Regions from separate parts of the Homo sapiens genome. Here region 2 is linked to region 1. Evidence: promoter capture Hi-C in human tissues and cell types (Jung and others, 2019). All regions are on one chromosome and are shown on one strand. Each heading gives the region's core, a stretch centred on a gene start or on the middle of the fragment in contact. The rest is flanking DNA. Distances are from core to core; before and after follow the strand shown. Region 1 holds the start of EN2 (engrailed homeobox 2). Region 2 overlaps LINC03010 (long intergenic non-protein coding RNA 3010).

Region 1 (7,793 bases), core at 3,898-6,397:
AAATCCCAGAACTGGCCCAAGGACCCTGGAAGTCCCCTCTCTCCCACCAGGTCCCCTAAGCTCCCCAAGGCCTTGAGGTGGCTGGTCCAGGCTTGAGGTGTGGGCCCCTCCTGCTGTCCTCACCAAGCCAACACAAACAAAGTGGCAGAAGTCATAGACCAAATAGGAGCTATTTATTCGGTTCACAGTTGTGTGAAATGCAGCAATAAAAAATCTTTGGACTTCAGCAAGTTGTTTTAATTTTTTCTTCTTTTGGAATAATAAAAAAGTGTCCAATGTCATATAATGGAGCTTAGGGGATTAAAAAAAGGTGAAACCCTAAGCAGCCCCCTTCGCAAAAAAGAAAAAAACCCATAAAATTAGCATAATCTCATAAACACAAAAAACTCAAAAAAATATTTTATAGTCAGATATTTTGGATTTTATACCACCTGTAAATGATATATACATAGAATATTTCAGAACCTTAGCTAATACACAATATTTTCACTATTAATGCTGGTATAATCTTTATACACTGGCCCTTTATGATTTTAAATTATTGCATTGTTTAGCGCGGACTGAGACCTGGCCTCCATGCCCCCCGCCCTACTCGCTGTCCGACTTGCCCTCCTTGGCTGTGGTGGAGTGGTTGTACAAGCCCTGTGCCATGAGGTGCACGGCCAGCGTGTTCTTGTTGCCCGTGGCCTTCTTGATCTTGGCGCGCTTGTTCTGGAACCAAATCTTGATCTGTGACTCGTTGAGGCTCAGCTCCTGCGCCAGGCTCTGGCGCCGCTGCTCCGTCAGGTACCTGTTGGTCTGGAACTCGGCCTTGAGCCTCTGCAGCTGCTCGGCGGTAAAGGCCGTGCGCGGCCGCTTGTCCTCTTTGTTCGGGTTCTTCTTCTTTGGTTTTCGAGACCTGGGACCTGGGTAGATACGGTGGACAGAGAGAAGTCAGGTTACCCAGAGGTGTGCCACCCAATAGGCACCGGGTAAGGATTCTGGGGCCCCAAGAGGGAAGTGACTCGCCCAAGGCCACTCGAGGCTGAACCGCCAGATGTGGGGCTAGACTTCGGACTGGGCATGGGCTCAACGCGGACCTCCACCACTTGGTGAGGGAGGACTGCGTGTGATGTAAGTGGGACTATGGGGCAGGCCTAGTGGGCAGGCTGACCACAAATGAGGGGTCTCTAGATAAAAGTAAAACTCCTGGATGTAAGCAAAACTCCCCACACTTTCTGGCCTGGTTTTTCCTAGTCCTTTCTGAGGCTCTCTGTTCAGGAACAGGGATGGCGGTAGGTGCTGAGAGAGAGGGGAGGAGAGAAGACTGGGAAAGGCTGCAGGGCGGTCACAGAAGCAGGAGGCGCCCTGAGGGCTATGATGGGGACCCTCATGGGGATACCCCACAGGGTGCCAAGGGCTGTGGGAATCAGGGGCAGGTGGGCCCTGAGGACAGGAGGGGCCCAGAGTGTCTGCCTCCACCCAAGCTCCTCTATGACTCCCAGCCAAGGGCTCTGTGGACCCAAGTTCATTCCTTTAAGGAAGAGTCAGTGCATGTACTTCCCTCCTTGGTGGGGAGGGGCACTGAGCTACTCACAGTGGGTGAGTCCTTCACCCACTGGAAATCTCCCAGGTTTCCTGTCCAGGAGAGGGGACCTGGCTCTACAAGGGTGTTGACTGCACCACCCTTTCCCCAGACATGGGACTGCTTCACTGTGGGCAGCAGGGTAGCCCAGCTGACCTTGTCCAGGTCCACTTCTGACCCTCCCCACTGTGCCTCCCAACTGGGATTCAGACTTATGAACCTGACCTGGCCTTCTCCCTGTGGACCTGCCCCAGGTTTTGGACAGGGTCGCTGTAAGGCTTCTAGGACCTGCTATCCATGGGGAAAGGGCAGAGGGAGGAGAGCAGAAGGAGGGAAGTGTCATCAGTTTCTTTTTGGTGATAAGAGGCTCAACCCCCTGGCGTTCCCTGTGGGGGAAGAAGGGGGCAAGGCCACTGGCAGGGAGTGGTGACCTCGCCTCTGGGTTTCAATTTGTGCGGTGTATGAATCGGCTTTAGGGAGCATCTGGCCCCAGCTTCATCACAGGTCCCTGTGGCTGGAGAAGGCTGGGGGCCCCCCACCCTTCAGGGCCGGAGAGCTGCCGGGCACACTGAGGAGAAGAGGAATGTGGATCTCCTTGGAGGCCCTGGGACTGCACCCTGCCCAGGTCAGGAGAGTCAACTAGGGTGCTGGGGCTGTGCCCAGCAAGAGGTGGGGGACGAACTGGAGGCCCAGGGTGAATGCCAAGCACTCCCTCATGGCCAAGTGAGTCTTGTGCTCTCTCCAGGAGACAGGCCTGGAGAAAGAGGATCTGTGGGCACCACCTCAGGAGCACCAAGGGCAGCTTTTAAAGCAACCCATAGGCAGGCTCACCACCCATGAGAGCACACACCCTATACTTGGGCACCCACCCCATGCACACGTACACACTCAGTGCCTGTCTTGCTCACGCCCAGGGCTCCAGGCCAGTGGGCCTGGCTTTGGTAGGGGTAGGTGCAGATTTGGAGATGGGGTTGGCCCTCCGGAACGGTGGTGGGGGATGGGGCACAAGGCTCCAGGAGAGGCCCCAGCCTCCTGCTCCCAGAGCCCATCTCTGTCTGGGTTTCCAACCACTCCCTTCCCCAGAACTCTACCCCCAAACTCTTCTGGTCCTGGGGCTCTTGTTAATGCACTCATGAAGCAGCCCGCAAAAGGACACCATTTTATGGCAATAAATTTCCCTAAAATAATAATTTTTAGGTTTTTTTCTTGATTTTCTTTCAAAAGACAAATACTTAGGAGTCTCAGAAACAGAATCAAACCTCCCCAAGAAAACTCTCTCTCCCCTTTCTTTCGGAGAAACCAAAGAACAGAAACATTATCTTGCAGGGATATTTTAAAGCCCATGAAGATAGGCGACTTGGGCTGGGCTGAGCTGGGCCGGGCCAGGCCGGGCCGGGCGGTGCTGCCCAGCTCCCGGGCCGTTGGGGGCTGGCTCAGCGAACTCCCGCGCCGCACAAAGCCCGGCCGAGTCTCCTCGCCCGGCATTGTGAGCCTGTATGTTAATTAAATATTAACAAAGGAGGAAGACGAGAACAATGGAGCAAATTTCAGATCTAGCTGAGAAATCTGAATTTCATCAGAAATATGCACGCATAGTTCTGCGGGATGGCGGCCCAAGGGTTGGCTCACTCCTGCTGTGATCTGGGCAAATGACCCCCGCAAAATAGTTGAGGGTTTGGGGGCAGCGGGGATCCGCTGCCAGCTCGGGGTCAAACAGTCCACTTCTAATGGCGGTTCCCAGCCGCAGACCCGCATGGAATGCAGTTGATGATTTCTACAAGGACATGGACTTAGTTTTTTAAAATCGCAGATCTATGAAAAAATATATCCAGCATCTCTGCAGGGCCCCTGCGAATGCTGCCTCTTTCCCATCAGCAGCCCCCAGGAAACCCTGAGAGAAGGTCCTTTCTATTTGGGGATGGCAGGTGCCGGGAGGGACGGCTGCCTCCCTTGTCCTCGCTGTGTGCAGGAAGGGGGCTGAGCCCCACCACTGCGGGCTGGCGCTGGCAAACAAAGTGGAGCCAAGGGGAAAGGGCGCCTTTATTTTCCTCCTTCCCTGTGTGCATCCTCCTGAGTCCCACCGGTCAGCGCAGGCCCGAGGGGCAGAAGGCAGAGCGGCAAAGGGCCTCGCCTTTTCTTCCCCGAGCACAGCCGGGATAACCGGATGGTAGGACAAGTCTGGGGTGGGCTGGGGCATGCGTCCCCGGCCTGGCCTGAGTTGGAAGATCGTAGGGAAGGGGATGAGAGTGTGCACTTCCGGGCCCATCTTCCAGCCACCACGTTCCCACCAAAAAAAACTACAGTGGGGGAGACATGGGCTAGGGGCTGGGAAGAGATGCGCCAAGGCGGGGTGGAAGACAGAGAGGGGAGACAGGGAGAGAGGAAGGAGAGAGAGAGACAGAGAAAGAAAGAAGGTCCCTTCTGCGGTCCTAAGAAGTCTGTACCCCCTAGCGAATCAGTCCTGCCGCTGGACTCCTGGCCGCTGCCCGGGCCGGCGTCAGCTTCACACAATGTCGCGTGAGTCTTTGTGCGTGTGCGCGGGGGAGGTTCGAGATGTTTTCCTCCCGGTAAGTTCCCGCGCCAGCACCGCCCCCCAGCTCCGCGGGCCTCCCCGCGGCGAGCCGGGACGCGTGGTCCCCGCGGGCTCACCTGAAGAAGGCCGGTCCGAGTAGCGCGTACAGTAGACCCACGCCGGCCAGAGCATGGGCTGCGCGCCCAGGTTGGCGCCGGCTTGCGAGCTGTCCGAGTCCGAGCTCACCGACAGGTCGCCGCCGCCCAAGCCGCGGGCCTTGAGCGACCCGTCCAGGGGGCCGCCGGGGTCGCCGCCTTTCTTGGCGCCACCGTGCAGCGAGAGCGTCTTGGAGCCGCCTTCCCCGTCACCCGGAGAGTCGCTGCCGGCGGCTGGGAGCGGCCCGCCCGCGCCGGGCGCACATGGCGGGTTCTGCCGGGGCTCTCGGGAGCCCGAGCCCAAGAGCTGCTCCGAGCCGCCCGCGCCGCCGCCTCCCTCCGCACCGCTCGCGCCGCCTTCGCCGCCGGCTCCGCCGCCCCTTCCTCCTCCCGCGCCCGCACAGCAGGTCCCCGCGTCCTTTCGCCGGCCGAACTCGGGCCGCAGGATGTTGTCGATGAAGAAGTTGGTGATGCGGTGCGGGTGCTGGTGGTTGCCGGGCGCCTGCAGGACCGCGGGCAGCATCAGAGCCCGCCGGCGCCCGGTGTCCGCTTCGCCCGGGCTGCTACCGCCGCCGCCGCCCGAGCCGCCGCCGGGGCTGGATTCCGGCTGCCGCTGTCCCTCCACCGCCGCCGCTGCTTCGCCAGGCTTGGGGTCATTCTCCTCCATGCTGTTCACAGTAAATCCCACACTGGTTCTCCGGGGACGCCCTTCCAAATCAGCCTTCGGCCCTCCCGCGGCGCACACGGAGACCCCCGCGCCCCCACCCCGCCGAGTCTTCCGAGGGCGTGCGCGGCGGCCGCGGCCAGGGCTGAGGTCCTACAAGTCGCCGGCCGCGCTCGGCGCGGAGCCACCTTTGAATCCACGAACTGGGTTAGAAACACCACGAGCCGCCCCGCTCGCCCAGACGATGAGAGATTCAACAGAGCCAAGTCCTCGACTTCGCCGCGCAGCCGGGGTCTAGACAGTCGCAGTGGTCCGGCGGGGACGCGGGCCGCCTCCCGGGCTCCCCGCTCCTCTCCGCGTCCGGCCGCCTCGGGCTCCGGCGCCGCCGCCTGGGCCGCCCGGGGCGAGAGCTGCGCGCATGCAGGCAGCGCGTTCCCCGGCGCTCACGCCCGCCCGGGCCGGCTCCGGCCGCCGCCGCCGCCCGGCCGTCCCCGCCCGCACGCCCTAGCCGGCCCTCGAGGGTGCCGGGCGCCCGCGGTCAGCGCGCCCGCCACCGCCCGCACGCACATGGAGGCCCCCTCCTCGCGGCCGCCGCCCCGCTGCGGGCCGGGGCGCCCCACCGGCGTGCGGCCGCGCCCCCGCCGAGCCCCGCAGAGCTCCGCGGCCCGAGTCGCATGGGTGAGAGACGCGAGGCCAGGGCCCGGCCGGGCCGGGCTGGGCCGCCCGCGCTCCCCGGCCGTCCGCCGCCCTCGCCGCCTCGGCCTCCGCGCGGGCTCGGAAATTTCCAGGCCACTCGGCGCAACCTGAGACACTTTCACTCTGGATTTTTGTTCTTATTTTTAACAGAGCCCCCTCGAGTGACGTCGCAGGCCGGTCTCCTGGACACGTGCCTCGGGCCAATGGCCGCGGCGCCGCGCGCCCACGTGACGCTCCGGCCGCCGCTGGGTGACAGGAGCAGCCCGCCGCCCCTCCTCCCCTTAAAGCGGCCGCGTCCCCCGCTCCGGGTGCGGGAGCCCAGGAACCCGGAGAGACCCCCGACCGCGTCTCCTGCGCTCGCCCGCGCTTTCCCTGTCGCTTCGCGGTTCAGGGGTGTGAGTCACCCGGCGACAGCCCCGCCAGGTCACCCCGGGGCGCGTAGGTGGACACGCACAGGAAGATCGCTATTTTTAAGATTTCCATATTGTTTACCGTGGGGCGAAATCCCACAATTCCTTGCACAAAATGCATAAATAATATTAAATGAGCTGCCGAGATACAAAGGGACTTTTGTGGTCCGCTTTCCTTGCTGATGGAGAGGAATAGTGTCACTCCCATTTGACTCGGTAACCCGGCAGCTTCCTGTCTTAAACGCAGAGCTGGCGCGCAGGACACTCCTCCTGCAGACACTTATTGTAAGTGTGCGTGTGTGTGCGTGTGCAGGGAGGCGCGTGCATACGGCCGCATTCCACCCGGGGACAGCGACCCTCATGAAACATGCTTAGCGATCCGAAAGAGCGGGGGAATGCAGTATGCGGCTCCATTTGCGAAGGGAGAAATCCAGGAGCCTCGGAGGTTCTAAAGGAATCCTTTTTGCCAAGGAGAGGAGGGGTGACTGTTCAGCTAAGACTTCAAAACCAAGTCGCCCGCCCCCCTCTAACTTCTCTACTCTGATTGAGGAGCTCCCAGACCGGTCATCTCGTTTTCTTTGTTTTAAAATCCTTTAAACTAATTTTGCCGGAGAGCAGGGCCCATTTGAAACGAGAATTAGGAATCCAACGGCAAGGGTGGGAGCCCCAGTTGGTTTCTCCCCTCCTCTCTCTTCATCTTTTCTAGACTTTCCTTCCAGCTGTTGTCAGAATGTCCAACTGGAAGTTCTGTTTCCTCTTCTCTTCCCCCTCCTCCCTCGGGCTCCTTCCCATTTGCTCTTGTCTACCCACCAAACACCCGTTGTTACCCCAGGCTCGCCTGTCCATCATTTAAAATGCATTTTTATGGAAATGTGTGAATTCCTGGAAACATCCGATAGGGCAGCTCTGGGGGTGCGGGAGCATTTGCACGCCATGAGTACCCTCAGTGCGGGGGAGGCGGGGAGGCCGCAGCCTGGCACGGACACCCTAGGGCTGATTGGCCCTGGGCAGCTGCACCGTGCTCAGCAACCCAGACCCCCGCAGAGGCAGCCAGCAGGTTGCTGCCAGGCCCTGAGTGAACTTGGGGAGTCTGGCAAGCATCTCCGAGGCAGCGTGGCCTGCCAGGCCACCTGGGGCCTGAAGGTTGCACCCTGGCCTTGCGAAGCTCCTTCCCCAGTGTCCATCCCACGTGCTGTCCTTCCCCTGCAGGCTTCAGAGTGCTGGCTGGGCTGGGATGAGAAACGACAGTTCCCACAGCTGCTCCCAGGAAAATTACCCCCCCACCCAGGACGGGAATGGTGGGGGAGGAGGTGCTGGGCTGGCCTCCTGGCCACTGGACGTGGCTCTGGTCAGAGTGTGCCCTCTGTCCGGTGTGTCTAGGGCAGGGTGGGGAAGCCTCTTCTCGCTGGGGCTGGATTCCTCCACTTTTTCTTCATTGGAGGAGTCCTTACCAAATGTTCTGGCTAGGCACACATCTGCCAGGGGTCCTCCCCGAGTCTCAAAAAATCAAACCCCACAGTCTACCTGCCCCCCGGGAAAATAGGGCTGGTGAGAGTTTGTGGGAAGTCTTATTGACGCTTACTTGGTTTTTTGGGGGGAGAATTTTCTGCAACTCTGGAAACTCTGATGATCACCAGTCAGGAAAGGGAGGGTCCAACGACTCTGGGTCTCCTGAACATGATATTGGGGGGAGGAGGGGCCCTGAGCTCTTTGGTTCCTGCAAAACCATCCCAGGTTAATGGCTCCACCTGTCCCATGAAAGCCAATTAGGCGGCTTCCTGAGAAGTATTTT
Region 2 (7,793 bases), core at 1,925-4,424, 52 kb after region 1:
GGTTCCTGCCCCACCCCAAGGAATTCCCCGCCGTAGGTGCCACTGTGTCTGGAACTTCACTATTACACACTCATTCCTTTAGGCGATTTCTCCTTTATTCCCAGGAGGTACAGCAGGTCAAGAACATCTACACTAAGGGGTTGACAACTGTCAGGTCCCGAGGGGCGCCGGGCCAGGCAAGGAGACGGTGGCTGGGGCGGGAAGAAGCAGAGAGCCCTGGAGGGAAGGTGGAGCCGTCGCTGCTCTCTCCAGCTCAGGGTGGCCTGCCACACTCCCACACCGCACACTCCCATAACCCACACTCCCACACCACACATACCCACACCCGACACTCCCACACCCGACACACCCACACCTCAAACTCCCACACCGGACACTCCCACACCCCACACTCCCACACCCCACACTCCCATAACCAACACTCCCACACCACACACACCCACACCCCACACTCCCACACACCACACTCCCACACCCCACACCCCACACTCCCCACCCCACACTCCCATAACCAACACTCCCACACCCCACACTCCCACACCCCACACTCCCACACCCCACACTCCCACACACCACACTCCCACACACCACACTCCCACACACCACACTCCCACACCTCAAACTCCCACACCCCACACTCCCACACCCCACACTACCAAACCACACACTCCCACACCCCACACCCCACACTCCCACGCCCCACTCTCACACTCCTACACTCCACACTCCTACACCCTACACTCCCACACCCCACACTCCCACACCTGACACTCCAACAACCCACACTCCCACACCCCACACTCCCAAACCCCACACTCCCACACCCCACACTCCACACTCCCACACCCCACACTCCCACGCCCCACTCTCACACTCCTACTCCCACACCCACACTCACACTCTCACACTCCCACACCCCACACTCCCACATTCTCACACCCCACACTCCAACACCCCACACTCCCACACCCCATACTCCACACTCCACACTCACACACTCCACACTCCCACACCCCACATTCTCACTCACCACACTCGCACATCCCACACTCTCAAACCCCACACTCTCACACCCCACACTCCCACACCCAATCTGACACCCCACATTCTCACACCCCACACTCACCCCACACTCTCACACCCCACACTCCCACACTCTCACACTCCCACACCCGACACTCTCACACCCCACACTCCCACACCCCACATTCCCACACCCCCCCACAAACACAACACTCACACCCCACATTCACACACCCCACACTCCCACACCCCACACACTCATACCCCACACTCCCACACCCCACATTCCACACTCTCACACCCCACATCCTGCACTCCCAAACCCCACACTCCCGCACCCCGTACCCCACACTCCACACACACTCCACACTCCCACACACCACACCCCACACCCCACACTCCCACACTCTCACACCCCACACTCCCACACCCCATACCCCACACTCCACACTCACACACTGCACACTCCCACACCCCACACTCTCACACACCACATTCACACACCCCACACTCACACCCCACACTCCCACACCTCACATTCTCACATCCCACACTCCCACACCCCACACTCTCACACCCCACACTCTCACATCCCACACCCCATACTCCCACACCCGACACACGCACACCTCAAACTCCCACACCCCACACTCTCACACCCCACACTCTCACATCCCACACCCCATACTCCCACACCCGACACACGCACACCTCAAACTCCCACACCCCACACTCTCACACCCCACACTCTCACACCCCACACTCTCACACCCCGCACTCCACACCCCGCACTCCACACCCCACACTCCACACCCCACACCCCACACTCCCACAGCCCACACTCCCACACCCCACACTCTCACACCCCACACTCCCACACCGCACACTCCCACACCCCACACTCCACACCCCGCACTCCACACCCCACACTCCACACCCCACACCCCACACTCCCACAGCCCACACTCCCACACCCCACACTCCCACACCCCACACTCCCACACCCCACACTCCCACACCCCACACTCCCACAGCCCACACTCTCACACCCCACACTCTCACAGTCCACACTCTCACACCCCACACTCCCACACCCCACACTCTCACACCCCACACTCCCACACCCCCACACTCTCACACCCCACACTCTCACACCCCACACTCTCACACTCCACACTCTCACACCGCCGCTGCTCCTCTCAGAAAGTGCCTGGCGGCATTGGCTCTGGGTCTGGGGCCGGTCTCTTCATAACCGCAGCCCCCAGAAGAAATGAAGACTCATCCCTGGAGCCAACACACCTTAAAGCCGTAAACACTGGACCGAGACCACTTGCATTTGAACCCCAGCTCTACCGCGGGTGAGCTGTGTGACCTTGACTGAGCGTCTTAACATCTCCCCACCCCGGTTTCCACATTTTTGAAAGGGTGACAACAATAATACCCACCTCATGGGGTGGTTTCAAAGATTAATTTAGTTAATATTTATCAATCACGCAGCAACATGCCTGGTTCGGGGTAAGCGCTCTATCTGCGTTTGTGAAACGAGTTAAAGGAAATGGCGCTATCATAGCACAGTCAGGCATTTGATTCTTTCCTTCTGATCTTTGATGTTCCATGTATACAACCAGGAATTTTTACATGCATAATTGCCTGGGAATTTCAACTGCATATGGTAGCACTTTCTGCTTTCAAACCATTTCTGAGGTGGTCTGTAGGCCCCCAGTTCTGCTAGATGCTTTCACAAGTAAACACTGAGAAGAATGCCTGATCCCTGCCCTCAGAGAGGTTGGTGGATTTGGGAAGACAAGAAGAATCCACATGGTTCAGGAGGAAAACCTGTGGAGAAGCCTGTAATGAGGAGCAAAACTGTGTGCAGCCGAGCGGAGGGGCGGGCATGGTTGAAGTGGGGCCAGGCAGCAGCCATGGTGGGGGTGACAAGAACCACAGCCGCTTCCTGCTGGGGCGTCCTGTGGGCTTCACGAATGCCACCACCTAGATGAGGACACGAAGGCTCAGAAAGGTCACACAAGACACACGGCTCACAGTGGGGAGGTGGGGCCTTCTGCCCATCACCTGCTCGGCAGCCCTGGTCCTTAAAGAACGCTCCGGTGAGGGGATCCGCATGGCCCGGCTGAGCTGGAGTGTGGACTCCTGGAGACGGTCCAACCGGACGGGGAATGTGTCAGGAGGAAGGAGCTGCTGGGAGGCCAGGAGCTGCTGGCAGTTCCCACCCTGCCCGGGTAGCACAGGCCCCCACAGGCTGTGGGCGGGAGATGCTGAGGGTTTTTTGAGCCAAGGGGCTCTGGAGGAAGGCAGAGGCCCAGAGCCACTGGCACCTCTGAGCAGGGGTGACTGGGGCGAGGACTGAGTCTGGGGTCCTGTAACCAGTCGAGTCGTACTGGGCGAGCCGAGGGGACCGTGCCTCAGCACACAGGTGGAGGGTTCGGGGGCAGCCTGTGGCTCTCCCAGGGACCGGCTGCGTCTCCCCTTCTAGCTCTGCCCTCTGCTGTGTGTCTCGCAAACACCACCCCGTGGACTGTGAAAAAAAGATTTCAGAAACTGGGAGAATTGCTGTCAGGCTTCCAAGCCAGCAGCACAGAAAAGGCAGAAAGACACCAGGACGGTTCTCTCGAACTCAGTTTAAATATGGAGGGATTTTGTCATTTTTTTAAACAAGAAAATCTTGTTTGATATTCTCTTTCTAATTGATTCTTCATATTTTCCTTTAAAAAATATTTCAAGCAGCTGTTTCCTGATAGGAGAGAAGCAGGGAACTGACACCCACAAATTCCTCCGGGCGGTGGTGCTGGGGCCGGGGCAGCGGGGCAGGTGACCCCAGGCGCAGGACGCTCACCTATGCTGCCTCAGCAAGTCGGGTGGGCTTGAATCCCCCTTCCAGGGCCGCAGCCTGCAGAGCCACCTCCTCACAAGACCACAAGCAGGCCTGGGCAGGCACCAGACGGGGAGACGGGAATGCTGGCCCTGAGCTCAGCCCTTGACCCGGTGGTGGGGCCACAGGTGCCATGTAACGATGATGGGTACCACTTGGGGATGAAGGCGGGGGCCTGTGCCAACTGACTTCTGACCCACAGGAGCCCTCTCCACAGCGTGAGTGGGGACGGGACCAGGTGGCAGCACCTCCCGGGATGGGCTCTGGTCCTGGCACCTCCCTGGGCGAGTGCTGGGCCTGCTTCCTCCCCTGCCCAGTGGAGAAGAGAGCAGCCGCCCTGGGGGAGCTGTTCTGGGGAGAGGGCAAAAAAGGGACAGGGAAGGCTTTGAAGGGGATGCTGGTGCAGTCCCTCAGGCGCCCCACCTCTCAGGAAGATGGGCCCCGCTGGGGGGCCCGTGGTGTGGAGGCCACGCTGCTGCCCGGGCTGAGGGACCCGAACCTGCAGGCCCCAGAAAATAAAAGGGTGGAGTCACCCACCTCCAGCCTGGGGCTGCACCAGCCCAATCCCCAGCCCCAGCAGGGGCTGCCCACCTCCAACTTCCCCACCCCATGGCCCTCCTCCTGCTGTCGTCTCCCCATCATAGTTCCTGCACCACACGTCTCTGGAACCGTATAAAGTTATGCGTCTGAGTGGCTGACAGCAGCCTCCAGGCTAAACTTTTGATCCGCTGTGTGCTGACATCTTCAAACCAGAGCGGGTCTCTCCCTCTCTGTTCCTGGGTTGGCGGTGGCAGGTCTCCTGCAGTATATGGCATGCAAATAAGCAGGTCTGCGCTGTCACTCCCTAGCTGCCAGACCCCTGCCTGGTGCCTGGAGGTGGCTGTCCCTCCAGCCACCTCCAGCAGCGAGGCCAGAGCCCTAGGCTGCTCCCCACCCCTTTGTTTCCTTCTGGGAGGTGCTGGTGACCGAGGCTCAGGAGGGCACCTGCCCCTAGGAAGGGGCTCCCCCAGGGATCCCCGCAGTAGAGAGGGGGCCACTGAGGGGTGGGTGGGCAGTGGCTGGGGGCTGCCTGCATGGACTGAGCTTCCTCCCAGGCTCAACCCCCACCCCCCATCAAATCCACCTGACTCGCAGAGGCTGTTAGAACTGGGGGGCTGTGAATCTGGCCACCTGGCCTGGTCCCATAGCTAAGGTTCAGTGGGAGTCTCAGCCCCAGCTCCTGGCATGGGGTAGCTCAGGAAAGGGGCTGGAGCTGACAGGTGTGATGAGGGTGAGGTGGGTGAGGTGGGTTTGGGGCCAAGGGGAGCCTGGGAAACCAGGTGAGAGGTATGGGAGGCTGCAGTGGGGCCAGGAATCCTGGGTCTCATCCTTGTTCCCATGCCAGCAGCACAGGCTGACACTTTGTCACAGATCTACTGGGTCCCCACCACTTAGCCCCTCTGTCCAGCCTCCGCAGCCCCTGGGAGTAAAGCCCTTTAATCTGAAGACTCAAAAACCCATCTCTTCCTGGAGCCAGAGGCCCAAGTGGCTGCCAGTGAGAGTCTGCTGCCAGCCCTCCCTGCTGGGCTCACCCACGGCTCCCGCCAGGCGCACAACAGCATCTGCGGACTCCTGCCCTGGCTCCTGGGTCACTTCTGTCTCTGGGAGAGGCTTTGGGCTTGAACCCTGGCAGCTTCATTGGACAGCGGTCCCAGCCTGCATGCCAGGTCCTGTCAGTGTCCTGGAGGGTCCTGTACTGGTCCTGGTCTCTAACCCTGTGCGAGGCCATTTGGGCTTACTTTTCTCTCTCCGAGATCTGCTCCTGGTTGCAGCGTGGTGACCAGTGAAATCTTGCATTTCTCTGCTGTGCCCCCAATCCCTCCAAAGAACATGGCCTCCTGGGATGCTCTCTGCCCTCCAGGCCCTCTGCCCGGCTCCCTCCTCACCCACCATGCCAGGCGCACGACACCCCAACACCGCAAAGACTTTCAGTCAAAGTATCCTCCCCTCCCTGCTCCTAACACCCTTGCTCTCCCTTGGAGGTCCAGAACAAAGAGGTCATTTCTTCTGGAAGGACCTCTTGTTCCCATGGCTACAAAATCCTCACTATTTACTCCCTTCTCTGTGGGCACGACCAGAGACAGCACTGCTCTTGTATTTCTTATGATGAAGATCAATGGGATGTCCTAGTGGTCTTCTGGGCATCCACATGATTGCATCATGGGTTGCAAGCCCCCAACAGAGAAAGTCTGTGCACCTGGACCCGCTCTTCCTTCTATTATGCACATAACCTGCCATGTTACAGGTTAGGGGAAGCACATAAGAAGGTGTGTGCTGTGGGCTGAATCCCCTGAATTCATATGCTGGATCCTGATCCCTGGGACCTCAGAATGTGACTGTATGTGAAGCTGGGGTCTTCACAGAGGTCATGAAGGTTAAATGAGGTCACATGGGAGGCCCTAGTGTAATATAGCTGGTATGCTTATATGAAGGGGGGATTAGGACACAGACACACACAGAGGGATGCCCTGTGAGGAGACTGCTGACTGCAAGCCAAGGCAGGGGCGGGGGGAGGGGAGGTCGAGAGAAACCAGTCCCTGCTGACACCTTGGCCTTGGACTTCCAGCCTCCAGAGTTGTGAGGAAGGAAAGCTCTTGTTTAAGCCACCCATGGTATTAATATTTGCTAGGGCAGCCCCCAAAAACTCAGACAGTGCATGTGTGGTGAACCAGAGATGGCTCTCAATTCTTCACCGCCTGTTACAGATTGGTGCCTGTCTGACCTGTGCCATGGGGTTCTGCAGGGTCCCCGCTGTGGTGGACGGAGTACACATTCCTGCCCTGGGACTTGGCCTTGGCCAGGTGACTGCTGCCAATGGAACATGAACAGAAGTGACAATACCCCATCTAAGCAGAGACACTAAGTATGATCCACGGCCTGGTTTGCTCTCTGGCATCTCTGCCATCCACTCAGGAGAGTGTTCCCAGACCCCACTGATCCCAGAATCAGAAACATGTGGAACAGACTTGACCAACAGCCTGACGCAGGGCTGCTCATTGCCCAGAGACCCCAAAGCAAGAAAAACACACGTTTGCTGCAGGAAGCCATTTCCATGTTGGGGCCATTTGTTATGCAGCCTTGTCACAGCAGTGGCTGACTGATACCTTAGCAACCTCATTTCCTGTCCCACACCTGCCTCATTCCTTCTGCTTTCTACACAGGTGGCCACCGTTATTAGTTTAAAAAGGCGTTTGCTTGGTGAGGAAGAAGAGGGAGAATCAAGCAAAGGCATTTGGACTTTATTCCACAGGCAACGTAGATCAGTGGAAGGTTGATGAAAGGGAAGTTCCATGATGAAATCACCGGGGAATTATTCTATCAGTGCTCCCCAGGCTGCTGGAGAAATGAGGGAGGAAAAACAGACACAGAAAAACCTGGTCATGGTTTTTATTATTTCTCTTAAATTCAGCTCCACCCCATCTCTTCAAAGAATTTTCCTCTTTGGTTTTAATAATGTGCTTAAGCCACAAGTTGAACAGTCTTCCATCCTCCAAGCTGTCTTCTGGCTGAGGGAGGCTGCTCTGGGCTTGGTGGGCGGTGGAGGAACGGGTAGCGGTTGGGGACTGTGTCGCAGCTGGCCCAGCCACTCTCCCTTTCTTGGGGTGTACTAATCTGACTCCCAGAATGGTGCCGACTCTTTCCAAGGCTTCACATTCCTCCTCCTCTAGCTCGGGGGAAAGTGAGTCCTGATTTAGACTTCTGTAGTCAGGCAAAGAATTTCTGAATGCAGGGGGCTACTCCAGGCTGGATGAAAAACCCACTTTCATGCCAGCTGGGTTTCTGACAGAAATGCCACAAGCTGGCACCTGGCAGTGTTACTGGGCTGGCAAAGTCAGAAAAC

Evidence for each region. The method cuts DNA at HindIII sites, captures the fragments that hold promoters and counts their contacts. A contact is called where the count stands out against the background at its distance.
Region 2: a contact is called between a fragment that was not itself captured here and the fragment with the promoter of EN2 in region 1, in 1 of the 25 tissues and cell types used here (spleen).

The regions. Positions count from the first base shown.
Region 1 is chr7:155,455,483-155,463,275 of GRCh38, reverse strand. EN2 (engrailed homeobox 2) reads right to left here and starts at 5,147. Exons shown (of 2, transcript NM_001427.4): 1 at 4,214-5,147; 2 at 1-905. The coding sequence starts at 4,898. The coding sequence ends at 589. It overlaps EN2-DT (EN2 divergent transcript), which reads left to right and starts at 6,158. Exons shown (of 3, transcript NR_186580.1): 1 at 6,158-6,286. RefSeq lists an enhancer at 5,494-6,485. The HindIII fragment of the contact is 19,554 bases long and covers 1-7,793 here.
Region 2 is chr7:155,401,315-155,409,107 of GRCh38, reverse strand. It overlaps LINC03010 (long intergenic non-protein coding RNA 3010), which reads right to left. Exons shown (of 3, transcript NR_147174.1): 3 at 7,326-7,793. Among named protein-coding and RNA genes, the nearest start is that of LINC03010, 23 kb to the right of the region's middle. RefSeq lists an enhancer at 1-594. The HindIII fragment of the contact is 8,046 bases long and covers 1-7,197 here.